2 separate regions of the Homo sapiens genome follow, and region 2 is linked to region 1. The links are contacts of gene promoters, found by promoter capture Hi-C in human tissues and cell types (Jung and others, 2019). All regions are on one chromosome and are shown on one strand. Each heading gives the region's core, a stretch centred on a gene start or on the middle of the fragment in contact. The rest is flanking DNA. Distances are from core to core; before and after follow the strand shown. Region 1 holds the start of BCAS1 (brain enriched myelin associated protein 1). Region 2 overlaps ZNF217 (zinc finger protein 217).

Region 1 (7,921 bases), core at 2,185-4,684:
TTCAGTAAGCCTCAAAGCAAGTAAAACACATGTGAGTTACAGCTGCAATTGAGTATGTGGAGGCACTGACACCCCAAGAGTCCAGGCTTTCCACGCAAATCAGAAATTATCTTCAATACAGAAAAAAGGCAGCACATTCTAAGAAACACAAACAACAAAAGAATCCTATCCTAGCCTTTCTTACCCAGGTTACCTCCCTGTAAGGGCCAACCACTTGTGCTGAAAATGATAACATAGCAAGACAGAAATATAGGGCAGCTTAGAGTTTCTTTTTCTTTTGATTTTTCCTTATTCATCAATAAACTGAAGATAGAGAGCATTAGTAGAATGGGTGAGTATCCAGAGGTAGAGTAAAAACAGTTGAATGATGACTTCTATGCAGCGTTTACACTGTTTTAGTGAGAACAGACTACGGGGGCCCCGTAACTAACTACAAAATACAAGTCGTATGATTTTGGTGATTCTGCCCTCGAGTTCATTGCATTTCAAACCAGCATGGCTTGATCTAAAGACGGATGGCAAAACTCACGCTGATCACTTACATTTTTATTTTTTCTTCCCTTAGAATGACTTCAAATAATAAGTAAAATACATGACAGGTAGAGAAAGAGACCAGGAAGGAGAGAAAACAGCTTTATGTTTCATACCTTTAACGGTACTTTTCCCTGCTTTTAGAACAAAGGGCTCATCGTTTTTGTTTTGCACTGGGTTCAGCAGATTATGTAGCCGGTCCTGCCTCATCACCACTCCTGACTACACCAGCTGATGCTTGGTGATGGTCTACAGTTTGCCAGACCCTTCATCACCACTCCTGACTACACCAGCTGATGCTTGGTGATGGTCTACAGTTTGCCAGACCCTTCATCACCACTCCTGACTACACCAGCTGATGCTTGGTGATGGTCTACAGTTTGCCAGACCCTTCATCACCACTCCTGACTACACCAGCTGATCCTTGGTAATGATCTACAGTTTGCCAGATCCTTCATCACCACTCCTGACTACACCAGCTGATGCTTGGTGATGGTCTACAGTTTGCCAGACCCTTCATCACCACTCCTGACTACACCAGCTGATCCTTGGTGATGATCTACAGTTTGCCAGATCCTTCATCACCACTCCTGACTACACCAGCTGATGCTTGATGATGGTCTACAGTTTGCCAGACCCTTCATCACCACTCCTGACTACACCAGCTGATCCTTGGTGATGATCTACAGTTTGCCAGATCCTTCATCACCACTCCTGACTACACCAGCTGATCTTTGGTGATGGTCTACAGTTTGCCAGACCCTTCATCACCACTCCTGACTACACCAGCTGATCCTTGGTGATGGTCTACAGTTTGCCAGATCCTTCATCAACACCCTTGACTACACCAGCTGATGCTTGGTGATGGTCTACGTTTTGCCAGACACACTGCTGAGTGCCCCCACCTGAATGATTTTTCTTAATCTCCTAAATCACTCATATCCCTAAACCTTATGTTTTTCTTCTGTAAAATGGGAGCAAAAGATCTTAATTTCACTGTGGACATAAATGAAATGGACGGATAAACACAAAAGGCTTTGCAAAGACTAATGCCATCCAAATGGCAGTTACTGCCATGTATAATTTAAAAGAGAGCAAGACAATGGGGAGTGTTAGCTCACGCCTATAATCCCAGCACTTTGGGAGACTGAGGCGGGTGGATCACTTGAGGTCAGGAGTTCCAGACCAGCCTGGCCAACATGGAGAAACCCCACCTCTACTAAAAATACAAAAATTAGCCAGGCATGGTGGTGCACACCTGTAGTCCCAGCTACTTAGGAGGCTGAGGCAACAGAATTGCTTGAACCTGGGAGGCAGAGGTTGCAGTGAGCCGAGATAACACCACTGCACTCCAGTCTGGATGACAAAGCAAGACTCCGTCTTAAAAAAAAAAAAAAAAAGAATGAACAAGTCCAATCAGCCAGGAGTTGCAGAGTACCTACTCTATCATAGAGGGATCCCCATCCTCGTTTTGCAGGGTGCCAGGAGTTGGGGATACAAGAATAGATGCAAAATAAACACAAAGGAGCACACAGCTGAGGGGGCTGACAGAGACTTAGGGAAGTACAGTAGCTTGCTCATAATTCCACAGCCGATCAGTAAGAATCAAGATCCGAGCCCTTGTCTGTCTCAACCCAGGGCCAGAGCTCAAGCTCCTGAGCCTCCAGGCTTGGGTCAGCACAGAGCGTGTGCATGGCAGCTGCTTAATAATTGGGTTTACTACATTCCAGATTGACATGTACAGTGCTGAGCTGGAATCGACTTTACAACCCTAATTACGGTGTGCCTGGTTGTGTATTCAGCATTTATTTAAATAGTATTTTTTTTCTTAAATGTTGATTTCTGAAAGAGGCCTTCCCCAGCTCTCTCTATTTCTCTCCCTTAGCTGCCTTGGCTTTTCTTTTATAATGAGAATCACACCCTGTAATTCTATGTTTATATTTACAGGATTCTATGTCCAATGACACTGAGTGCAAGAAGGGTAGAGACCCAGCATCTTTTACTCACCTCTTTAAACTCTGGCTTATATATATAGCCTGGTGCTTGACAAGTATTCATGATAGGGGTTAAGCTGAGTATACTGTTGAATAAAACCACAATAATTATTGGTCGCAATTCTCTTGAATGTCTTCTCCAGAGCACTAAGTAGTGTAACTTATCAAGTTTCCTTTCTTGCATTGGCTGTTAGGAAGCTCAAAGCCATATCTGCAAACCCTTCATAGCAAGTCTGTAAATCAACAAGAGCATTTATTTTTGATCCTGTTCTCATTTGATGTTCCAAATTTTGTTCTTCAATCTTCTTTTGTTACATGTTATTTCATGCTCTCATAATCTATTGTATATGTCCTTGTAAGACACTTTAAACAACATCCTTGCTTGAATTAAATAAATTGCATAGCCTGTCGAATTTCTGGCCTGCAAAGAAAAAGAATGCCCTTTCCAACATCATGGTATGTCTCCAGAGCAATAAACCACCCTCAGGTTACCTGATTTCTGGTGTCCAAACCCCTTTGGGAATAAGGTTTACATGACTAGGGGTAGTTGAGTGGATGAGAAGCTATTTCCTTCCAATTAGGTGGTTAGGTGGTGGTGGAGGTGGTGTTCTGAAGTCAGCAGACAGAACTACAAAATCTCACAGAACGTGTTTTCCCTGCTCTGACCATGACCTACGGTTACTGGGGAAGGAAACTGCTTCCCCAGGTCAACCCGGCAGCCTCAGTAGGTGAGGGGCACTGGGTAGAATACTTGGGGTGCCAGGGAGGCATTAATGCGAGAGGAGTCAGGTGCTCAGTTTTTATTGGAGTTGGGAGGGCAGCCCCACATCAGGAAGAGAACCTGTTTCTGCAGGATGGTCCGGGGAGAAGGGAGGACTCCACCCAGGCTTGTGTTTGCCCTGCTCTGTGTATTCAGCCAGCAGGCTCTGCACAAGGAAGCAAAGTGCAGGGAGCCAGGCTCCACCGACAGCCAGGCACTGGGCAGCACGCACTGGAGACCCAGGACCCTGTGCAGGAGCAGCTCCGGGTGACACGAGGGGACTGAAGATACTCCCACAGGGGCTCAGCAGGTAACTGCTTTCAGATCCTTTAGGCATGGCTGGAGGGTTTGCTGTTTGTGGTAGACGGTGTCATATAGAGGCCAGGGGTCAGACAGGGTCAAGTTTGATCCCAGCTCTGCCTTCTGTTCACTGTGTGGCCTTGGATATGTGTAAGCCTCAGTTCCACTATCTGTGAAATGGACCCAAAGATAGCACTCATCTCAAAGTTTTTAGTTTTACAAGGAGCAAATGACAATGTGGTCAGTGTTAGGCGCATAGCCACATAAATAACTCCTATTTGGTGGAACTATTGAGGGTCATTTCAAGCACAGGACATGGGGAGAAGTCACTGGATGGAGGGATAGGCTGTGTGATTTGGGGATCCGTCAGGGCAAGAATGCCCCATAGCCGAGTGGAATCTGAGCCTTCACCTCAGGCATTGCCTAAAGAAGTGGGAGGACAAGAAAAAGGACTTGTGGAGTGCCTTTTGTGAATCTTATTTAACGCTCAAGACCACCCTATGAGGCAGCTGCTGATTCAAATCCTGGCTTCAGGACCCCTGCTGTTTACATCTCCCTCTGAACCAGTTTCCTGCCTGGAAGAGTCATTGCGATTAGAATGCGGGTGCGCTGCAGCCACACCGCCAGATGCCAGCCCCAGCTCCACCCTGGGCTGGCTGGGTGCCCTGGAGCAGGTTCCCTCAGCCCTCTGGGCCTCAGTTTCCTCATCTGTAAAGTGAACCTAATAACAGTACTGAGATCAAAGGGCTGAGAGGACTCTACTGCCCGTAAATACCTGTGCACTTAGTAACTCTTAGCTGTGGTTCTTGTTTTCGCTGTTACCATCGTCTCCATTTTACAACTAGGAACATGAAGCTGGGTGAAGAGGGAGCTGCATCTGGTTCCAGGTCTCATGGAAAGGATGCTGTGGAACTGGAGTCCAGTCGGGCCTGGGATGAGGGTGCAGCCAGTGAGACTCTCACCTTGGGCACGAAATGTAAGGGATGCCAAAAAACTCAGTCATGGAGATAAACGGTATGTTAACACAACATTTTTAAAAGTCAGAATTAATGGCAAGACACCCGTGATGAACAAACTATGAACATGTTACAGAAAGATAAGATCAGGAACAGCGGTAATTTTGATTTTCACAAATTTCATGTTAAAATACTATTCATCTCCATGGCTGAGCTTTTTGGTGTCCCTTACATTGTTCCCCCGGAGTCCAGGGCCTGATCCGCCTCAGCCTCCTGGGGATCCTGAGCTGATCACAGCAGCTTCAGGCCCTGGGTGTATATACTCAGGGTATGTAGAGGGTGCTTCCTCCTAAATAAAGACAACAGACGGGGCGGGGCATGCTAAAGTAGTTTCTCATTTAAGTGAGGGTGGGGGAACAAACCAATGTCCCAAATCACAGAAGATTCTTTTTTTCCAAAGAGTTCTGGAACCCAGAAGGGTTTTGTTTTTAGGAAAAAGGCATGAGCTTTGGGAAAAGCAATGGGCCCGTTAAAGCCCATGGATTCTGCCTGCTTTACCATGACAAGAGATGTGGAGGGAGAGGAATTGAAAAAGGCTTTGGGTTGGGGGCGGGGGTACCTTTGCACCTTGCAGGCTCATCTGTCCTGCTGGAGTATTAGATGTGACTTGATTGTCTCTGTGTCTGCAGCTTCTCTTCAAGCCAAGTGCCCTGCCCTGAAGCAGTTCAGGATTTGAGTGCCTGAGTCACGTGGACCCAGGTTCAAACCCCAGGTGTGCCTCCCCGTAGCTTTCTGACTGCTACTCTTGGGCAAGTAGGACTAGTAAGGTGCCTACCCTCATGGAGGTGACGTTCGTGAGATGAGGGGATGGCATTGCTCAGCCTTGGTTTCTTTATCTGTGCAATCAGGGAATAATGGGACTCTGCAAGGGAAAAGGAGACAATGTGTGTGAAGTGCCTGGCACCAGGGTCAGGGCAAGGGTGAAGCCAGTGAGCACCTGGGGGATAAAATGCAGGGAGGCGCTCACTCTCTGCTGCCGATTCTGCACCAGAGATGGTTGCCTTCCTATATTTTGTGTCCTGCTATGCTCACCCTGGTGCTGCCTGGCACATAGTAAGCCTCCAATTAAAATTACCTGCGATTATCATGCACTTAACAATGTTTGGTGCAATAATAAGACTATGAGAGCGAGCTCTAAGATTTTTAGGATTACCATCCGTTTGTGCAAACATAATTAAGTACTCCGAAAGCAAAACATCAATCACCAAGCAGCCCTAAAACATCCAAGGTGATTTTGATCAAGGCACCCCTGCCCCTGGACCCACAAAGTCCCATACCAGGAATCAGGGCTTGGGCAGTTCAGTGAGGACTGGATTTCAGTTCCCTGTGTCCCCTTGTACAGGAGGCAACCTGTAGCACTGTACCTGGCACTCCTGATAATAGCTGCCGTGTTCCTAGCACTGTGCGGGCACACACATGGAGCTGCAGGACTGTGGGGCAGGCAAAGCGGGGTTGTTCTTTCCTCCTGCAAGGTCTTTACTGATGTTGGGGGCAGAGGGCTGGTTCTGCTGGGTGTGCCAGCCTGGCCATGTTGGCGTCACCCTCAGCTGAGCAGTGAGGAGGGCCCCTGGGTTACCTACATTCCATTGCATTGATCGAAGGTGTTGCTTGTTTACTTGGTGACTAATTCTGTCACCATTCCACCCTTCAAAACCACCCCCCCTCCCATTCAACAGTCGTCTAGCTGCCTGCTGGTGATGAAGTTTCAGAAGTGCTTTCTCCAGGCCAGCTTGCATGGGGTTTGGCGTTTGGCCTGTTTCCAGGAGGAGGGCCTATTATTAATCTGTAACTACAAGGAGGCGACATGGACCATCAATCACTGTGTAAAAGAGGAGGGATTTGAGGGCAGCTTCCAGGAGGCCAATTCACTCATGGATCAGAACACAGAACTAACTCAATTATAACAATAATAAGATAAATGAATAATATTAGCAATAACTAACGTTTACTCACCTGAGTACTGCCAAGCCCTGGCGCTAAATCCTTACAGTGATTATCAGTGACCCTTCAATTGTTCAATCCTCACTTTATTTGATTTATTTATTTACTTATTGAGAGAGTTTCATTCTGTCGCTCAGGCTGGAGTGCAGCGGTGTGATCTCGGCTCACTGCAACCTCCGCTTCCTGGGTTCAAGCGATTCTCCTGCCTCAGCCTCCCAAGTAGCTGGGATTACAGGCATTGTGCCTCCACATCTGGCTAATTTTTGTATTTTTAGTAGAGACAGGGTTGCGCCATGTTGGCCAGGATGGTCTCAAACACCTGACCTCAAGTGATCCACCCACCTCAGCCTCCCAAACTGCTGGGATTACAGGCATGAGCCACAGCGCCCGGCCTAATCCTCACTTTAGATTGTACCATATATATTCCTTGCCTAGTTATAATTTTCTCATTGCAAGAATGAATATGCAGGAAATATTTTCTATTCCATGTTCTATTATATTACATATAAATATTTCATAAAACTATAACATCACTTATACAGCAGAAGAGACAGTAGAAAGTATGAAAATAGAAAAGTTAAAAGTCTAAACTCTGGACTTGAGTTTGCGAGGGTTAAGTCCTCATTCTCCCACTTACTAGAAGATGATCTGTATTAGTCAGCTTGGGCTGTGGTAACCAAAACACCACAGACTAGGTGGCTTAAACAACAGTCATTTTTGTTTTCTCATAGTTCTGGAGGCTGGAAGTCCAAGATCAAGGTTCTGGCCGATGCATTTCTGGTGAGACCACTCTTTCTGGCTAGCCAACAGCTGCCTTCTTGCTGTGTCCTCACACGGTTGAGAGAGAGACAGAGAGAGCTCTTTGGTGTCTCTTTTTATAATGACACTAATTCTATCAGATCAAGGTCCACCCTTCTGATTTCATTTAGCCTTGATTCCTTAGAGGCCACATTTCCAAATGCAGTCATATTGCACGTTAGGGCTTCAACACGAATCCAACACGAATTTTGGAAGGACACATTTCAATCCATAGCATGATCTTAAGTGAGGAGTTTAAGTTCCCTGGGCTCAGGTTCTGCATCTGTAAAATGGGGACAATAAAAATACCTGCCTCGGCCGGGCCCGGTGGCTCACGCCTGTAATCCCAGCACTTTGGGAGGCCAAGGCGGGCGGATCACGAGGTCAGGAGATCGAGACCATCCTGGCTAACACGGGGAAACCCCGTCTCTACCAAAAATACAAAAAATTAGCCGGGCGTGGTGGCAGGCGCCTGTAGTCCCAGCTACTCGGGAGACTGAGGCAGGAGAATGGTGTGAACCCGGGAGACGGAGCTTGCAGTGAGCCGAAATGGCGCCACTGCACTCCAGCCTGGGCGACAG
Region 2 (7,921 bases), core at 5,422-7,921, 490 kb after region 1:
TTGTTTGGAATTTTAATGATTTGGCGTGATGAGGAAAGCTAGTCCTTTAGAATTGTCTTTATTTGCCTACAGAAGGAGGAAGTAGAGGACAAGATATGACTTTTATTGGTGAAGGACACACACTTTTTTCTTTAGTGTCCCACTCTTTTAATCCTTTTGTCTTCACAACACTTTTCTAACGCTTTGCAGTTTGACCTTTGCTGTTTTTTAGTAACTTGTGAGATCGAAGTTTAGCAGTTGTGTTGGGTTCCTATTCCCTTTCACTTCTTACTCAAAAAAAGGAACTAATACACCACTTAGAAAAAATTTGTAGAAAACTTTTCTCCCCTTTACCCTGAGGAATCTATTTTGGTTAACAGGTCAAAATTTTTTTCCAGGTAGTAGGGGAGGAAGGAGGAGCAGTGAAGGTTTTGACTTTGACTGCCTTTACTTTTTTAAGGTGGGGGTAGATTTGCATTTTTCTTTGTGAGCCTCCATTTTTGGCAGGAAAACTTCAGGGAGGAGTAGGAGCCCCTAATCCCCTTCCAGTGGACTTGTTTTGGAGGAAATCTGAAAATAAGACTTAATCATCAAGTCACTTATAAACTGATGAAATAATTAAGGAATATAATGGCCTGGCAATGACTAAGTCCTTCTATCTCCTCATTGCAGATACATGCTAATCACTTTTTTCTCTCTTAACAACATTTATTATGAAATGGCATGTTTTTGCCACAGCAGGGTAGCCATTTCCCAACCCTGGAGCACTCTTAATTCTGAGATGCCTGATTAGAGCCTCAGGGGTCCCAAAAGATGTGCTGTTTTCCCACTTTATAAAATTACATTCTTTTCTCACAGTTGTCACAAACATGATATTGGTTGATAAGAACTTTGGAGTAGTTTTAATGACTCTTGACTGCCTGAAAGATGCCACTTTAAAAAAGGAGCTACTTTTAGCTGACTCTATTTGAAAGTAAATGATTGGACCCTTTTTATGTTTTATATGAAGCTTTGTTTCCATTTGCTTAAAAAAAAAATTCAAATTGTCCCATCTCCTGTATGCCCATATGGCCTGTATGTTATAGATTTTGAGGTTGCTGGGTATGATTTGTTTTAAATCGTTCCTTCCTAATTTCCCATTTCAGTTTAATCCCTGAGCGGAATGTTTAATGAATGAATTGGGAAGGTGAAGCTGAAGGACTGAGCAATGGCTGTTTTCAAGCCTTAGAATTAGAAAGTAGGAATGAAAAACATGAGACAGTTGCATAAACTGAGTATTCCACTAATAAAATAAATGTAATAAGATTTTAAATCCAGTTACTACAATTGAAATCTAAAAACAGAATAGTTTTTAGATTACTGGGATGTTAAAAAATAAAAACCTGAAAGGTATTTACAGAACAGCTACCAACATGGAATTAAAGGAATCTCAATCTTGTTAAATATTCTAAAGAGGGAAGGGTTTGGTTACAGCATGTAAATTAAACTTGAGACAATGGCGGGCGGGGGGGTCTTGATCCGCACACCTCTTCTCCAGATTCTGCGGGGGGGAGGGGTGTTAAAATTTAAACGCACATGGAAGAAAAAAAAAATGTATTACACAAAGACGGCAGGAAATTTCTTAAATTCGGGTGAAGGAAGCCTGATTATTGAATATCACTTAATGGCCTCATTTTAGAGGCAGTATAAAAACTTTTCTGAAATGCTCATGTTTTTGGAGTAAGGTGAACTGGGTTATTTTTCCCCAACCAGTAATAACAGACAAATTTGCAGTGGTATCTGGGGCAAAGGTTTTTGAATTTAGACCACGAGGAGAGATAGAAATCTGACTTTAAGGAAGTGGAAGAACAGGGACCATTCTTTCCTAAAATCTGCAGCTCACGATGACATGCTCAATTCTTGTACACATCTATCTTCCAGATAAATAGGGGGGAAGCCCCCGCTAGCCAGCTGCCGCCACATATTACCCTTTTATATTTAACGTTGGAATGCTTTCCATTTGAACATTTGTTGACTGACTGTTCTGAACATCTCCATTACTTCCTGTCCAGGGTATCAGCATAATTGAGTTACTGGAAATTTGGGGACAGTTTGGTAATTTTATGATAAAGTTGAGAAATAAAATTACTAAACCTGAAAAGACAGCTGAAGAAGTTGTATGAGAGAGTTAGTTGGATTCCTTACTTAGCCTTTGTTCTTATTAAGCTTTACAAAACTTGTTTCTGACCTCCACATGACTGTACTTCCTATAGAAAAGCTCCCCCAGACTCAGAAGCTAGGTTTTTAACAGACTCGTGTAGTGTTTCTGTATTGGTGTTCCATTATTTTCTGGTGTGTCTGGAAACCTTTGGAATTTAAAATGTAGTTAAGTGGACTGGAAATGTAGACTCTAGACATTTCTTGAATCAGCGTTAGGAGTAATAGTTACTTTTACTTCTACCTCTATCAAATAAGGATAACAAAGCATCTCAGTTATACTGAAGTGTTTTTGTTTCTTTTGTAATCAATATAGAGTTTTTCTTCAGTTTATAAATCTACTGAACAATGATTGTATTACTAATTGAAAGGAGACTTTTCCCCTTGATTTTGAAAGCAAACAGGTGACTGGAAAGAGCCAGATATACAACTTTAGTATGTAGTCAGCAAAAGATAGGATGGGGAGGGGAATATTTAAATCTTGCAGAAGAACGATCTTATGCCTTAAAAGGCATTGCCTAAGCTTGTATTTAACTAGGTTACTTGAATTGTGTTTAATTGAGAGCGCTCATTGGAAGAAGTGGTATGGTGTAGTGGTCTAGTAGTGGGCATAGTTGTGTGTGTGTGTGTATATATATATATATATATATATATATATATAGATAGATGTGTGTATACACACGTTCAGTGTTTTCATTACAGAGAGTTAGTGCAGGTAAAGATAGAACAGTTTATTAACAGTTAATTAATTTGCTGAAATCTTTTTTTTTTGGTGCAGTTAGGCCTGTCAAATTTTTACAGATATTTAAGGTTGTACTGGTTAAGTAGTAGTAATAGGAGAAACGGATAGCAATGCTTAATCTTGCTTAATTAAAGTTTTTAAAAATTCACTTTCCTTATATTATAACTTTTTTTCAGATCAGGATGTTTTTAAAAACCACTTTGCAGATGACAGTATCTGTTAATATTGAAACTAAAACTAGTATGTTATACTTTAAGTTCTTACTAAGATCCCTTAACTGACCTTAACTGATTTAAGATGAATTCAGGCAGTTTCTAGTTAATGACACTCAAATATGCTATATGATTATATTTTTATAGTACTTTGGTCTCTAATCCTATTTAAAATTGGTAATTTATGAACAATTTCAGCAAAATGAAATTATTTCCTTTACAAGCTTCCCAAGTTGAAGAGTTTAGGTTGTAACCTTAAACTTTGAATATTCCAATCTTTTTCTTTCGCTTAACTTGGAAGCATCTTTCCACAGCTAAATTAGGAAAGTTGGGTTGACCATTTAGCCTCATGGGTGTGACCCCTAGTAATTTCCTTGAAACAGTGTTGAAGAATTTAGAGCATTAAAAATAAAAAATAAAAAAACCTGTAGCTTTTTGATTGTTAGTAGATGGCTATGCAGAGTTTTCTCCACTTGTCAGATTAAGAAAAAATACTGTGCGTAAAAGACAGAGGAAAAACTTTCAGAGAAAATGTAAACTTCTAGCCAGGTCTTGGAGATAATTTTGTAGTTTTCAGGGTACAAATGCATTGGCCAGAGAATAGCAATTTAAGTTGAATTTTTTAATAACTCCTTATTTGGACACCTCAGTAACTTGGGAAAAAGTAGCTTTGTTAGCAGTATGACAAATTGTGTATAAATATAATTTTTCTGTGTTTTTGAGGACTTTGAATACCTTATTCAAAGCTGTATTATGGTAGATGCATATTCCATATCAACAATGTAAGATAACCTGTTAATCAGAAGAAACAGAGGCTGTGCTGTTTCTAAAAGTTAACAGTTTGAGTACATCAGGATGTAAAGAAAAATATTCCCAAGTTACAGTAATTGTCAGCAAAGTGGCTGTTGTACCTAGTTAGTTGTACTTAAGCACAGATTACTGTGCTTTTTATTAAGCAGTGTAGAATGTGTCCTATTTGCTGATTTCAAGATCTACAGGTAGTGGTAGAATTCATGGTAGCTTTAGTCACAAATCAGTGTGTAATTAGTGACCTAAAGAACATCACACTTCTATTCCAGCCTTTTCTAGCAATATGGTTCCTACTGGATTTCAAAGATTACGCTCTGGTAAATTTTAAAAGTATCTACTGAAATAATCCCAATAGAAGTTTCTTTCAAAATATGGCTATACTCAATAGCCCACTTGCCTTAGGTGTTAGGGGGTATATGAGTTAAGTTCTGTCGTTTACCTGAGTAAAGATTTTAAAATGTTTTTAAACATTGGAAAACATTTTTGTGAAGTACTTTTCAGTAAGCTTAGCGTGTTCATAACGCTCACTTTCTTGCAAGCTAGAAGCATTTAGATTATAGTGTTGGATTATAATATCCTGCTTTTCTCCTCCAGTTCTTTGTCAAGAAAGACAATTTACTTTATCAGCAGTGCCATCGGTTTACTGCTGCCTTCTGTGTGCAGGAGTGTGGAGAGCTGGAGGCTTCTGGGAAGGCTTGTGTTTGTGCACACACCCCATTCAATTGGAACGGTGATTTGCTGTTAGTAGATTAGAATTTCTATTTTGCTGTATTCTGTTATTAACGTCTTTATTGTTACAACCACTTTAACGATTACTGATGAGCAAATTGGTTTTAAGGGATGTAAACCTGGTTTAAAGTATTATTCATTGTCTTAGAGTTTAAGGAAGTGTTTTGTCTAGTGTGTTAGCAGTTTCTAAGTCAAGAGCTGAAGGCATTTGCTGTCAGAGATAGCCCTAGGATGCCCAGCATTTTTGTTTTGGAGGGTCATAAGGAGAGTGAGTATAAATCCAAATAGTGCAGTTTTTTTTTTGCTTGTGCTGATCAACTTTATGGTGTGATTAAATACGATTTTTTTTATTACGCTCTTGAAATTGTACTCTTGAAGTTGCAGAATGGCAATTAGATGGCAGTCGCTGATAGCCATGTAGAAGTTTTGATGAACATGCAAGTTAATTTTAATTTCTGATCAGTTACGGTTAGTGACTGTGGCCAAACGTGTGTACTGATTCTACACGTGTGCTAATTCCGTGACATTTATTCACCAGCTATGTGTCGAGTGCCTAATCCTGTGTCAGGCACCTTGTTCCAGGCATTGGGGGCAGCAGTGGACAAGGCAACAGTCTCCATCCTGAGGTGTTACTTTTAGAAAAAGACAGTTACAAGCAAACAAACAGGATGGTTTTAGATCTGGACAGAGGTTTTCAGAGGAAGTCATCCTTGAGCTGTCACAATACTTTGGGGGGGTAGGGTGTGCTGGGTAGTCAGGGATGGCACATTTGGGGTGCCTAAGGATTGCTGTGGCCCTGGGAGCCTAGGACAGTTGGTCACAATTGACTATTAGAGTCAGTCTCAGAAGCTTTCCTGGAGAAAGAATTCTGCTGTTTTGCCAGGAGGGTTTCCTTCCCCATCTGACCACACAAGAAGACCCCTTGGCCTAGAATGCCTGCCCTCATCTCCAGGTCTCCCAGGCTGTTCACCCTCCCAGGCAAAGTGGAAGCTTCCTCTGTCCTAAGATCGTTTCCCACTGAACCTCCTTCATTGTCCTTCACCGCAGTGAAATAATCCTACAAGGTCTTGTGTGGAGAGTGATGGTAACTTCTTTAACCCAGATAATTGAGAATTGGAACCAAAACATCTTTCTATTAATAAATATTTTCAGTAACTAAGTTATGCTGTTTCCCTGAGTGGGAAATAACACTCCATCATATTTCTTATTTTTTTGGGCGGAGAGGGGAGACTTGCTCTGTTGCCCAGGCTGGACCAGTGGTGCGATCTTGGCTCACTGCAACCTCCACCTCCTGGGTTCAAGTGATTCCCAAATAGCTGGGATTACAGGTGTGTATTACCATGCCCAGCTAATTTTTGTATTTTTAGCAGATAAGGGGTTTCACCATGTTGGCCAGGCTGGTCTCCAACTCCTGGCCTCATGTGATCCACCCACTTCGGCTTCCCAAAGCATTGGGAGTATAGGTGTGAGCCACTATACCCGTCCTCACATCATATTTCTAATCCCGAGACTGTAGAGCTGGTGTCTCTTTTTCTAAAGGATGTCAGTAGAGAAGTGGAGTTCCCCAAAATTACAGTTTCACGTATTAGTCAAGTTTCTAAAATACAGTAATAATGTTGAGAGCTGACATAGGGACTAACTTAGTTTTTTTTTTTTTTTTTTTTTTTCAAATTCTCACTGAACTTTGATTTTGCTAAATAAGGACATTAAAAAAAAAACCAAAAAACTCCACTATTGCCTATTGCCACTATTTGATTTTTTAAAAAATAAGCGTATTTTAGCATCTAAAAGTAGGAAGGACCTCAAATAAATGAGTCTTTGTTCTTGGCCAGGGAAAACAGCGTTGTCAGAATTTGATAACTGTTTTTCTAGGGTATGTGCTGTTATTCAGTTAAAACCTTGCCTGGGACGCTAGCATTCAGTAAATACTTGTTGAATAAGCAAATGAAACTTAAGCTTCTATGTATAGAAACCTAAGTCACTTCACATTCTGATTAGCAGAGTAATTGAATATTCTTTTCAATGTGTAGCTCTATCCCCAGAACCACAGAATATTGGAACTGTAAAGGCCATCCTATAGTTTAACCAACTGCGTTAAATAGATAATAGAAAGATGTGGTATGTGGCAGTGACAACTTGAAGGTTGTGACTAGAACTCGGGTCTCTGGAGTGTTCTATTATATCACACCAAGCTGGTCACCAGCCCATGTGTTGATCCTCCATTGTGATAGCAACAAAGAAAAGACTTCAGGACATTCTTTCCTTTACCCTAATCCTTGATCTGCAGTCTTATTTAGAAAAGCTTAATGTTAAAGATCTAGTTTATTCAAAACTAAAGATAACAAGGAGTATGAGAATTTCTATTTCGGAGTGTAAAGGAGGAGATGTTTCCTTGGCTTCTCTGAGCCTGCAGGCCTTCCTTGCTCTTTAAGGAAGTAGAGAGAGGGAGGAAAGTAAAGTATGCTTTTGTTTTTTAAGGTTACTTTGCTGGGAGTAGTTTGCATGCCTTTTGGTTTTCTTGGGTGGAATTAACTGACTTAAGTTTTAAGTAGTTGGGACTATTTAAAAACAATGCCTATCCAATGTTTGCCATAAAGGCAGAGGGTATTGGCTTTAGAAGTTAATTCTTCTCCAGGAGTGAAAATTAGCTTCTAAACCAGAAGCAGCAGAGCTAAATAAAGTAATTTTCCACCTGGCCAGTGCATGATGTGAAAGGTAGATTAAAAAAATGAGAGGGCCCATTTTCTGATGAAAGACTAAGCCATGTTGAAACAGCCCTGTTGAGGATTTTATTTTAAATCTATACATTCACAAAGGAGCTTTGTGTATGTCTTTCCCTATTTGTTGTTTGGACTAGGAAGCCCCACCCAGTGCTTGTTGAAGGCAGAAAGTCGTTGAAAGCAAGCTGGGATTTGAACAGTGGATTGAGGTTTCGAATATCCAGTGAACCAAAATATATCAGGGTTCCCCTGGCCAAGATGAGTGACCATTCTGAGGTGTTAAGTATTTCTTGAATGGGGATTTTAGGAAAAGTTTCTGTATTTCTGTGCTCATTTTGTTGACCTCTGTATGTGCAAAATCTCTAAGGGGGTGTTTGGGCACTTAGATTTCTTGGATGCAGATTTGTTTGTATATGAAACAAATTTTAAATTGTTTTGTATACACTGGATTTAAAATAGTTTACTAAAGTGTTTTAATTTTTTCATCTTAATTTTCACAGTTCTTATAGTCTTTAGATTTAGGGAGGCTGTTG

Evidence for each region. Contacts are between HindIII fragments. The study calls those that stand out against the background at their distance.
Region 2: a contact is called between a fragment that was not itself captured here and the fragment with the promoter of BCAS1 in region 1, in 1 of the 25 tissues and cell types used here (hippocampus).

What each region holds. Positions count from the first base shown.
Region 1 is chr20:54,066,107-54,074,027 of GRCh38, reverse strand. It overlaps BCAS1 (brain enriched myelin associated protein 1), which reads left to right and starts at 3,434. Exons shown (of 13, transcript NM_001366298.2): 1 at 3,434-3,595. MIR4756 (microRNA 4756) reads left to right here and starts at 5,543; the gene lies at 5,543-5,620. RefSeq lists an enhancer at 3,841-4,715. The HindIII fragment of the contact is 15,029 bases long and covers 1-7,921 here.
Region 2 is chr20:53,583,510-53,591,430 of GRCh38, reverse strand. All of the region lies in intron 1 of ZNF217 (zinc finger protein 217), which reads left to right. Among named protein-coding and RNA genes, the nearest start is that of ZNF217, 6.4 kb to the left of the region's middle. The HindIII fragment of the contact is 3,380 bases long and covers 4,982-7,921 here.